3 separate regions of the Homo sapiens genome follow, and regions 1 and 3 are each linked to region 2. The links are contacts of gene promoters, found by promoter capture Hi-C in blood cells and fetal thymus (Javierre and others, 2016). All regions are on one chromosome and are shown on one strand. The core of a region is centred on a gene start or on the middle of the fragment in contact, and the rest is flanking DNA. Distances in the headings are between cores, read along the strand shown.

Evidence for each region. Contacts are between HindIII fragments. The CHiCAGO score rates a contact against its expected background, and 5 or more counts as called.
Region 1: a contact is called between a fragment that was not itself captured here and the fragment with the promoter of PEX19 in region 2, in 1 of 17 cell types (erythroblasts). The highest score is 5.2, in erythroblasts.
Region 3: a contact is called between a fragment that was not itself captured here and the fragment with the promoter of PEX19 in region 2, in 1 of 17 cell types (fetal thymus). The highest score is 6.6, in fetal thymus.

What each region holds. Positions count from the first base shown.
Region 1 is chr1:159,945,841-159,948,540 of GRCh38, forward strand. It overlaps LOC124904438 (a long non-coding RNA gene), which reads left to right. Exons shown (of 3, transcript XR_007066684.1): 2 at 312-612. Among named protein-coding and RNA genes, the nearest start is that of IGSF9, 1.6 kb to the left of the region's middle. RefSeq lists a silencer at 1-53 and an enhancer at 1-396. The HindIII fragment of the contact is 1,462 bases long and covers 678-2,139 here.
Region 2 is chr1:160,283,842-160,286,541 of GRCh38, forward strand. PEX19 (peroxisomal biogenesis factor 19) reads right to left here and starts at 1,292. Exons shown (of 8, transcript NM_002857.4): 1 at 1,214-1,292. The coding sequence starts at 1,283. LOC107985219 (a long non-coding RNA gene) reads left to right here and starts at 524. Exons shown (of 3, transcript XR_001738265.2): 1 at 524-1,014; 2 at 2,476-2,520. The HindIII fragment of the contact is 4,290 bases long and covers 1-1,426 here.
Region 3 is chr1:160,603,718-160,606,417 of GRCh38, forward strand. No RefSeq gene overlaps it. Among named protein-coding and RNA genes, the nearest start is that of CD84, 26 kb to the left of the region's middle. The HindIII fragment of the contact is 1,383 bases long and covers 760-2,142 here.

The DNA of each region.
Region 1 (2,700 bases), core at 159-2,658, 340 kb before region 2:
CGGTGGGCCGCTTCCCGCCGCCAGCAAGAGGGGCAGCAGGGTCCGGCTCGCGCTCCAGGGCTGCGGGAGCTGGCCCCTTGCCAGGCTACTGGTACGCCGTCCTTCTTTCGGAACCTACGGGCGACCCTCTCCGCTCCCCGAACGGGCGCGCCACAGAGGCGGCAGCGAGGGTTGAAATCTGAGCCTGGGGGTAGGAGAACCAGGCGGGGAGCATGACTCCCCGCCCTCCTCCCAGGGGATCCACCCAGGTCCCGGGCTCATCCGATCTCCTCCCCCATCCCCATTTCTACCTCCACCCATTGCTTCTCTAGCAGGACTGGAAATACCTGTCTGCATTGGCGAGCTCCCAAATCTTGCCCAGGCGCCTCCCACCGTGTGCAGCTGAGGAAGGCTGTGCTCTGAGCGTGGGGTTGCCAAGTCAGCTCCCAAGGCAGCTCTGGCACCAACGACCCAGAGAAACAGGCCCAGAGGGGAGAAACGACAGATATCCTGACACGGGAGATTGAAAGGGAGGAATGAAATACAAGATCACTTACTGGACCCATGCAGGGTGCCAGACCCTGGACTAGATGCTTTATAACTCTTGTGTAACCTTCACAGAAACCCTGCGAAGTAAGTAGAGCTCCCTTTGACTAATGAGAAAACTGAGGCTCAGGGAGATGAAGTAACTTGGCCCAAGCTTTCCCAACTAGGTTATGGCAGAGCTGGATTGAGACCCAACCCAAACTTCATCAAACCTACTCCCTTGGAGGCTTCGCCCTCAGACACAAAGATATCTTGCATATCTTGCCCCTCAGAGATTCCACCTCCTCAGCCTGGTGATGCTGTAGGGATGCTGGGTCGGCTTAAGCAACATTGCCTGTCCAGGTCCTTCCCATTCAGTTGGCTCCCTTGGAAGCCTTCCATGAAAGCAACGTGCTGATCTCATCCCAATCCGAAGTACTAAGACTCAAACTGAGTGCACCAGGCATCAGACTCACAGAATCACTGCTGCAGCATCATGAGAGAACCTCCAGGATGGGCCTAAGCACTACTTGGCCCCAGAATCCCTGGCACATCATTTCTCCATGTAGTCATCCAAGCCCCTATCTCATTACATCCTGGGCCAGGAAGCTCAGCACTACTGTTGTACCCATTCCATCCTTAGTAAGCTCTGCCTGCTGGACAGTTCTTCCAGGTGTAAAGGTTTTAGTGCTTTTGGGTGACTGAGATGGAAGGGAAGAGGCAGGAGCAGTGGGCCAGTCTCTCCCACCATCCCTCCTGCAAATAGTCCCAAAGTAGCAGCTTTTCAACAATGCATTTCAACATAATACCCTGATCTATTGATAAGACTATAATGGAAACATGTTAATGAATGCAGCATGGAAGCAAGGCTAGAAGAAATGGTAAAAGAGTGAAGCGGGTTTTTTGTTTGTTTGTTTTTTTGTTTTGACAGAGTCTCACTCTATCGCCCAGGCTGGAGTGCAGTGGTGCAATCTCGGCTCACTGCAACCTCCACCTCCCGGGTTCAAGCGATTCTCCTGCTTCAGCCTCCCAAGCAGCTGTGATTACAGGCGGCCACCACCATGCCTGGCTAATTTTTGTATTTTTAGTAGAGATGGGGTTTCACCATCTTGACCAGGCTGGTCTTGAACTCCTGACCTCATGATCCACCCACCTCGGCCTCCCAAAATGCTGGGATTACAGGTGTGAGCCACTGCCCCCGGCCGAGCCAAGTGTTTTTTAGTCTTTGGATCTTTACCAATCATTGGGAAGGATCTCCCTCCCCGCTGTTAGAATTGGCCACACCTTTGATCTAAACTGCTGTCTCCAGTGGTTTCTTGAGGATAAACTAATCTCATTTAGACATTAAAATAACTTTCTGTTAAATGACATTTAAAATGGTTTTCAATTTTTAAAAGTTTATGATATGGCCTTTTTTTTCTGGAAACTTATTTTGTGACTTTTATTGTTATTGCCATTTTTTGTCTGATTTATATGTATATTGGAGATTTTTTGTTAAGAAAAGGAACCTAGCCCTATAACTTGTTCCCTCACTGTGCCAGGAGTGAAAGCTGATTTAAAAAATAGTCCCTGAGGTTCAAAACAAAAGACTTTCCTCTAGGTTGTCCTTGATTCATAGTCATTACTCTCTGGGAAAGCTTATTCAACCAACGAGGATTCCACCTAACCTAAGTATCAGGCAGCCCCCATATTTTCAAATTGCTGACAAGGATATCAGAAAATATTCTCTCTCTCCCCCTCCTCCTCCTCCTCCTCTTCTTCCTCCTTCTTCTCCTTCTCCTGCTTTCTTCTTTCCTCTTTCCTCCTCCTCCTCCTTCTCCTCCTCCTCCTCTGCTGCTGCTTTTCCTCCTCCTCCTCCTCCTCCTCCTCCTCCTTCTCCTTCTTCTTCTTTTCTCTCTCTGTCTCTCTCTCTGTCTCTCAGAGCTGGGGTATTCTCCTCCTCTTGCCTTTGAACATCAAAACTCCAGGCTCTCCAGACTTGGGACTGTGAGTTATACCATTGGCCTCCCTGGTTGTGAGGCTTTTGGAGTTGGACTGAGCCACACTTTTGCCATCCCAGGGCCTTCTTTGTGCATGTTGTAGGACTTGGCCTCCACCATCATGTAAGCCAATTCCCCTAATAAATCCCATCTCATATTTCTATATCTGTATCTATCTATCTTATTGGTTCTGTCTTCCTGGTGTATACCTAATATT
Region 2 (2,700 bases), core at 42-2,541:
AAAGGCAAAGAAATCCCTTAAGGTGGAACAAATGTCCATCTCAGAGCTGGGAGGAGAGGATTAAAAAGTTCTGCAGAGACATCTCCATCTATAGTGTCTCCCTTGCCACACCCTAACGATTCCCTAGAAATCCCATACAAATACCCAACAGTAGTAGAGAACACAGATGTCCTCATCCCTCTGAACTCACTCTGGAGCTCTAAAAGGAATAACTTGGTGAGAAAGCACAGGACATCCCACCCAGCTTCCTGTTGGTACTGGTACCAGCACAGACTGAGGGACTACATACCAGACTCCATGGTACGGCATTAAACTATCTTCTCTTATTCTCCAGTTTAGTGCTCCCCAACAACCTTCTAGAGCTCCCTTTGGCCTGATCTCTGCAGATAACCGTACACTAATTTACACAGTCACTTGGCACTCCTCAGGGTTTCTGTTCATTTTTCTGCCTGCCCACATCTCCGTGATTGAGCAAGCGATTACAAATTCACCTCTGCCCTGAAAAGCCTGTGTCCTCACCACCATTCTGTTCGCCAGGCCTAGGGAGAGAGCACTGGCCCTACTCTGGGCAGGAAGTCAACAGGGGAGTGGAGAGTAATGCTAAGAAAACATCCCCCGTCTTTCAGGAGGGTGAACTGCTTTCCCCTGAAATCGCCACATCCTCAGTTTCTCAAAATAAGGGAAAGGAGTCCGCTTGAGCTACTGACAAGATGAAAGAACTGTTAAGGGGCCTAACGAGAGAAAGAGAAAAGGACTAGGAGGAGAAAAGTGTCTTTCGTGTTAAGGAAGACAGGACGAGGCACACAAGGACCGGCCACGAGCTTGCTAGGAGTTAATGTAAGCAATCAGTGAGTGCGTAGTTCGCTACCCAGCAAGAACCAAATGCTGCTGCTGCTGCTACTGCTGCTGAAGTCGAACTTTAAGAACTCAGTAACCTAAAGAGGAGTTTGAAGAGGTATCATGAAACGCCGTCCTGCGGAAACATCCACCATCCGGACCACTGAGGGACCCCAGGTGAGCTCCCCAGCTCCAGTCGCCGGGGTGGGGCAGGATGACCCAGAGATTTTTGGGGGGCTCGGGGGTCAGACTCTCCGCCCCCATTTAACCTTTGGAGAGCCTCTCCTGCCCGTCCCTAATATCTCAGGTTCACTTAACCCCCAGAATGGGTCCTCACACGTGCCCTCTTCGGGCCTTTCCCACTATGGGCTCTTACTTTCCAGAAGCTCCTCCAATTCCCTGTCCGCTTCGGCCCCGACACTACAGCCTTCCTCAGCGGCGGCCATCTTGCTACCTCCGACTTGCCGTAGGAGGCGGGACCTCCTCGGTGCCGACACGCCCTCCACCCCTTCGCTCCCGCCCTCTTCTGCCTCGGGTAACCAATGGTATTGTTGACCAGTGCGGAACCGCCATTTTTAAAGGGCCAGGAAGCTTTGAGTGTTTGTGTTTTGGGTATTTTTCCCTTTTCTCCTGTGAAACAGAATTAGGGATAAGATAGGGTTATTTTCTGTCTGGTTTTAGAGGCCCGGACTCCTTTCTTTCAACTTCCCAAATTACCTGGCGAAGCTCTTTCATTATTTTTTCCTGAGCTGTGAGTAGGCCAGATTGAGACAAACTGCCTACAAATAACCAGAATCTAAACATATATAATTGATATGACAATTATGGCACATAACATACTACTTTCTCTCACTTCATTTTTTTTTTTTTATTTTTTTTTGAGAAGGAATCTTGCTCTGTCGCCTACGCTGGAATGCAGTGGCGCCATCTCGGCTCACTGCAGCCTTGGCCTCCCGGGTTCAAGCGATTCTTCCTGCCTCAGCCTCCCGTGTAGCTGGGATGACAGGCGCGCGACACCACGTCCGACTAATTTTTGTAGAGACGGGGTTTTAACATGTTGGCCAGGCTGGTTGGCCAGGCTGGTCTCGAACTCCGGACCTCAGCTGATCCGCCCACCTCGGCCTCCCGAAGTGCTGGGATTACAGGCGTGAGCCACTGCGCCCGGCTTCACTTCATTGTTTCCCTCAAATATTATCTTTTCTGAAACGCTTTCCTTGGCCATTCCCGTTCCTTTTCTTCCTAACACTGAACAGTATCTGACATACTATCTACCGTACTTTTTTATTCTCCGCTCCCCACCCTGCAGAATTTAAACACCATGAACGCAAAGATTTTCGTCTGTTGTCTTCACTGCTGTAAAGCCCAACTCCCAGGCTAGGGTTTAAAACTTAGTAGGCATTCATTGGCCACTCTTTGCTCTCGCAGTCCCTAATCAGGCACATCTGTCTGCCCAATCTAGTGGCATCTCTCATTTCCTATTATCTATTAGAACTGTTTGATTAAAGGACACAGGGCCGGCCAGGAACTTAGAACTCCATGTTATTAAGAGAGCCTCTGGTACCTTGGACTGAGCAGGGCAATTCGAATGCAGTAGTAATAGACTTACTTTCCCTGAACAATCTCCTTTTCTCCACACAGAACCCAACCTCCAACTGAGTGAACACGGGGAATGCTCAGATAGAGGTAACTCTAGACGTCCCTTTCCTCCTTTGGAATTGTTCTATTCAGATGTCAGAATGTAGCAACTGTTTCACATACAAATCTGTTTTCGCACTTAGAGAGCACCTATTATTAAGGTCTTGTTCTGGGCACAGTGAGGACAGAGAGATAAATCAGGACCACCCCCTGCTGTAAGGTAGCTAA
Region 3 (2,700 bases), core at 201-2,700, 320 kb after region 2:
TAAGTATTTGTTAAGTCCATTTATTCTAGGGTATAGTTTCTTTATTTTCTGTCTTGATGCTTTCTAGTTCTGTCAGTGCAGTATTGAAGCCCCCCACTATTATTGTGTTCCTATTTCATTTCTTACATCTAGCAGTGATTGTCTTATAAATTTGGGAACTCCAGTGTTAGATGCATATATATTTAGGATTGTAATATTTTCCTGCTGGACTAGTCCTTTTATTGTTATGGATTGTCCCTCTTTGTCTTTTAAAACTATTCTTGCTTTAAAGTCTGTTTGGTCTGATATAAGAATAGTTACTCCTGCTCAGTTTTGTGTCCATTTGAATGCAATATATTTTTCCACCCCTTTACCTTAAGTTTATGTTAGTCCTTATGTGTTAGGCAAGTCTCTTAAAGACAGCAGATACTTGGTTGGTGAATTCTTATTCATTCTGACACTCTGGATCTTGTAAGTGGAGCATTTAGGCCATTTACTTTTAATGTCAGTATTGAGATATGAGGTACTATTCTATTCATTGTGCTAGTTGTTGCCTGAATTGCTTGGTTTTTTTTTTCATTGTGTTATTGTTTCATAGGTCCTGTGAGATTTATGTTTTAAGAAGGTTCTATTTTGGTGTATTTTGAGGTTTTGTTTCAAGATTTAGAATTCCTTTTAGCAGTTCTTATAGTGCTGACTTTGTAGTGGCAAATTCTCTTGGTAGTGATACATTCAGCATTTGCTTGTCTGAAAAAGACTTTATCTTCCCTTCATATATGAAGCTTAGTTTTGCCAGATACAAAATTCTTGGCTGATAATTATTCTTTTAAGGAGGCTAAAGTAAGGATAATTACTTAGTTTAAGGATATGAAAGATAGGACCCCAATCCCTTCTAGCTTGTAGGATTTCTGCTGAGGAATCTGCTGTTAATCTTATAGGTTTTCCTTTATAGGATACCTGATGCTTTTGCCTCACAGCTCTTAAGATTCATTCCTTCATCTTGACTTTAGATAACCTGATGGTTTAGATTACCTAAACCTGTGTGTTTAGGTAATTATCTTTTTGCAATGAATTTCCTGGGTGTTCTTTGAGTTCCTCAGGAACACAAATTATTCTTAGGTTTGGTCATTTAACATAATCCCAAATTGGCTGGAGGCTTTGTTCATTAAAAAAAACTTTTTTCTTTGTCTGTGTTAGATTGGATTAATTCAATAGCATTGTCTTTGAGCTCTGAGGTTCTTTCTTCTACTTGTTCCATTCTATTGTTAAAACTTTTCAGTGTATTTTGCATTTCTCTAAGCATGTCTTTTATTTCCAGAAGTTCTTATTGTTTTTTATTTATAATATCTATTTCTTTACAGTGTTTTTGTCCATATCTTGTATTATTTTAAAAATTTCTTTAAGTTGGTTTTCACCTTTCTCTGGTGCCTACTTGAGTAGCTTAATAATCAACCTTCTGAATTCTTTTTCTGGCAATTCAGAGATTTCTTCTTGGTTTGAATCCATTACTGGTGAGCTAGTGTGATCTTTTGGTGGTGTGATAGAACTTTGTTTAATTATATTGCCAGAATTGTTTTTCTGGTTCTTTCTCATTTGGGTCAATTATGTCAGAGGAAAGGTCTAGGACTCAAGGGCTGCTGTTCAGATTCTTTTGTCCCACAGGGTGATCCTTTGATGTGGTGCTCTCCCCTTTCCCCTACAGATGGGGCTTCCCAAGAGCTGAACTGCAGTGATTGTTATTGCTTTTCTGGGTCTAGCCACCTAGTGGACCTACCAGGCTCCAGGCTGGTACTGGGGAGTGTCTGCAAAGAGTCCTGTGTTGTGATCTATTTTCAGGTCTCTCAACCACGGATACGAGCACCTACTCCAGTGAAGGTAGCAGGGCAGTGAAGTGGATTCTGTGAGAGTCCTTGGTTGTAGTTTTGTTTAGTGCACAGGTTTTCTCAAATGCTGGTTATGCTAACAGTGAAGTTGTCACATGGACAGACTCAGGACCTCTGGTTAGCCAGGACGTTACAAGTGGTGGAATTAGCTGTTGTTTTCTCCTTCCTTGGAGCAGGGCTATTTTGTTATGAGTTGCTATAATGGCTTGACTTGATTGGCCTCCAGCCAGAAGGTGGCGATTTCAAGAGAGCATCAGCTGCAGCAGTACGGGGGAATACAAGCTTGCCCTAAGGTCACCTGGATAAGTATTTGGGTTTCTCAGGTGATGGGAGGGCCATAGGGCTCCCACAAGATTATGTCTTTTGTCTTCAGCTACCAGGGCTGGCAGAAAAAGACCATCAGGTGGGGGCAGAGTTGAGCATGTCTGAGCTCAGACTATCCTTGGACAGGGCTTGCTGTGGCAACTGTGCGGTATGGGGGTGTGGTTCTCAGGCCAATGGAGTTATGTTCCCAGGGGGATTATGGCTGCCTCTGCTGCTTTGTACAGGTAGCCAGGGAAGTGGGGGAAAGCCAGTGGTGACAGGCCTCTCCCCACTCCCACACAGCCAGCAAGGCCAGTCTCACTCCTGCCATGCTCCCCAAAGAGCCAAATTTATATCCAAGCCTCTGGTATGCAGGGCTGGGATGTTGCCCTGGGATACTAGCCTCTCTGCTGAGAAGGCAAGCAGGGCTTTCAGGCCTCACCCCTCCCTGCCTGCTGTGGCTTCTGTGCTCATATCTGCACTTTCTATTCATCTCCACAGATCCTGACCAGGACAATTCGTACTCAGTCAAAAT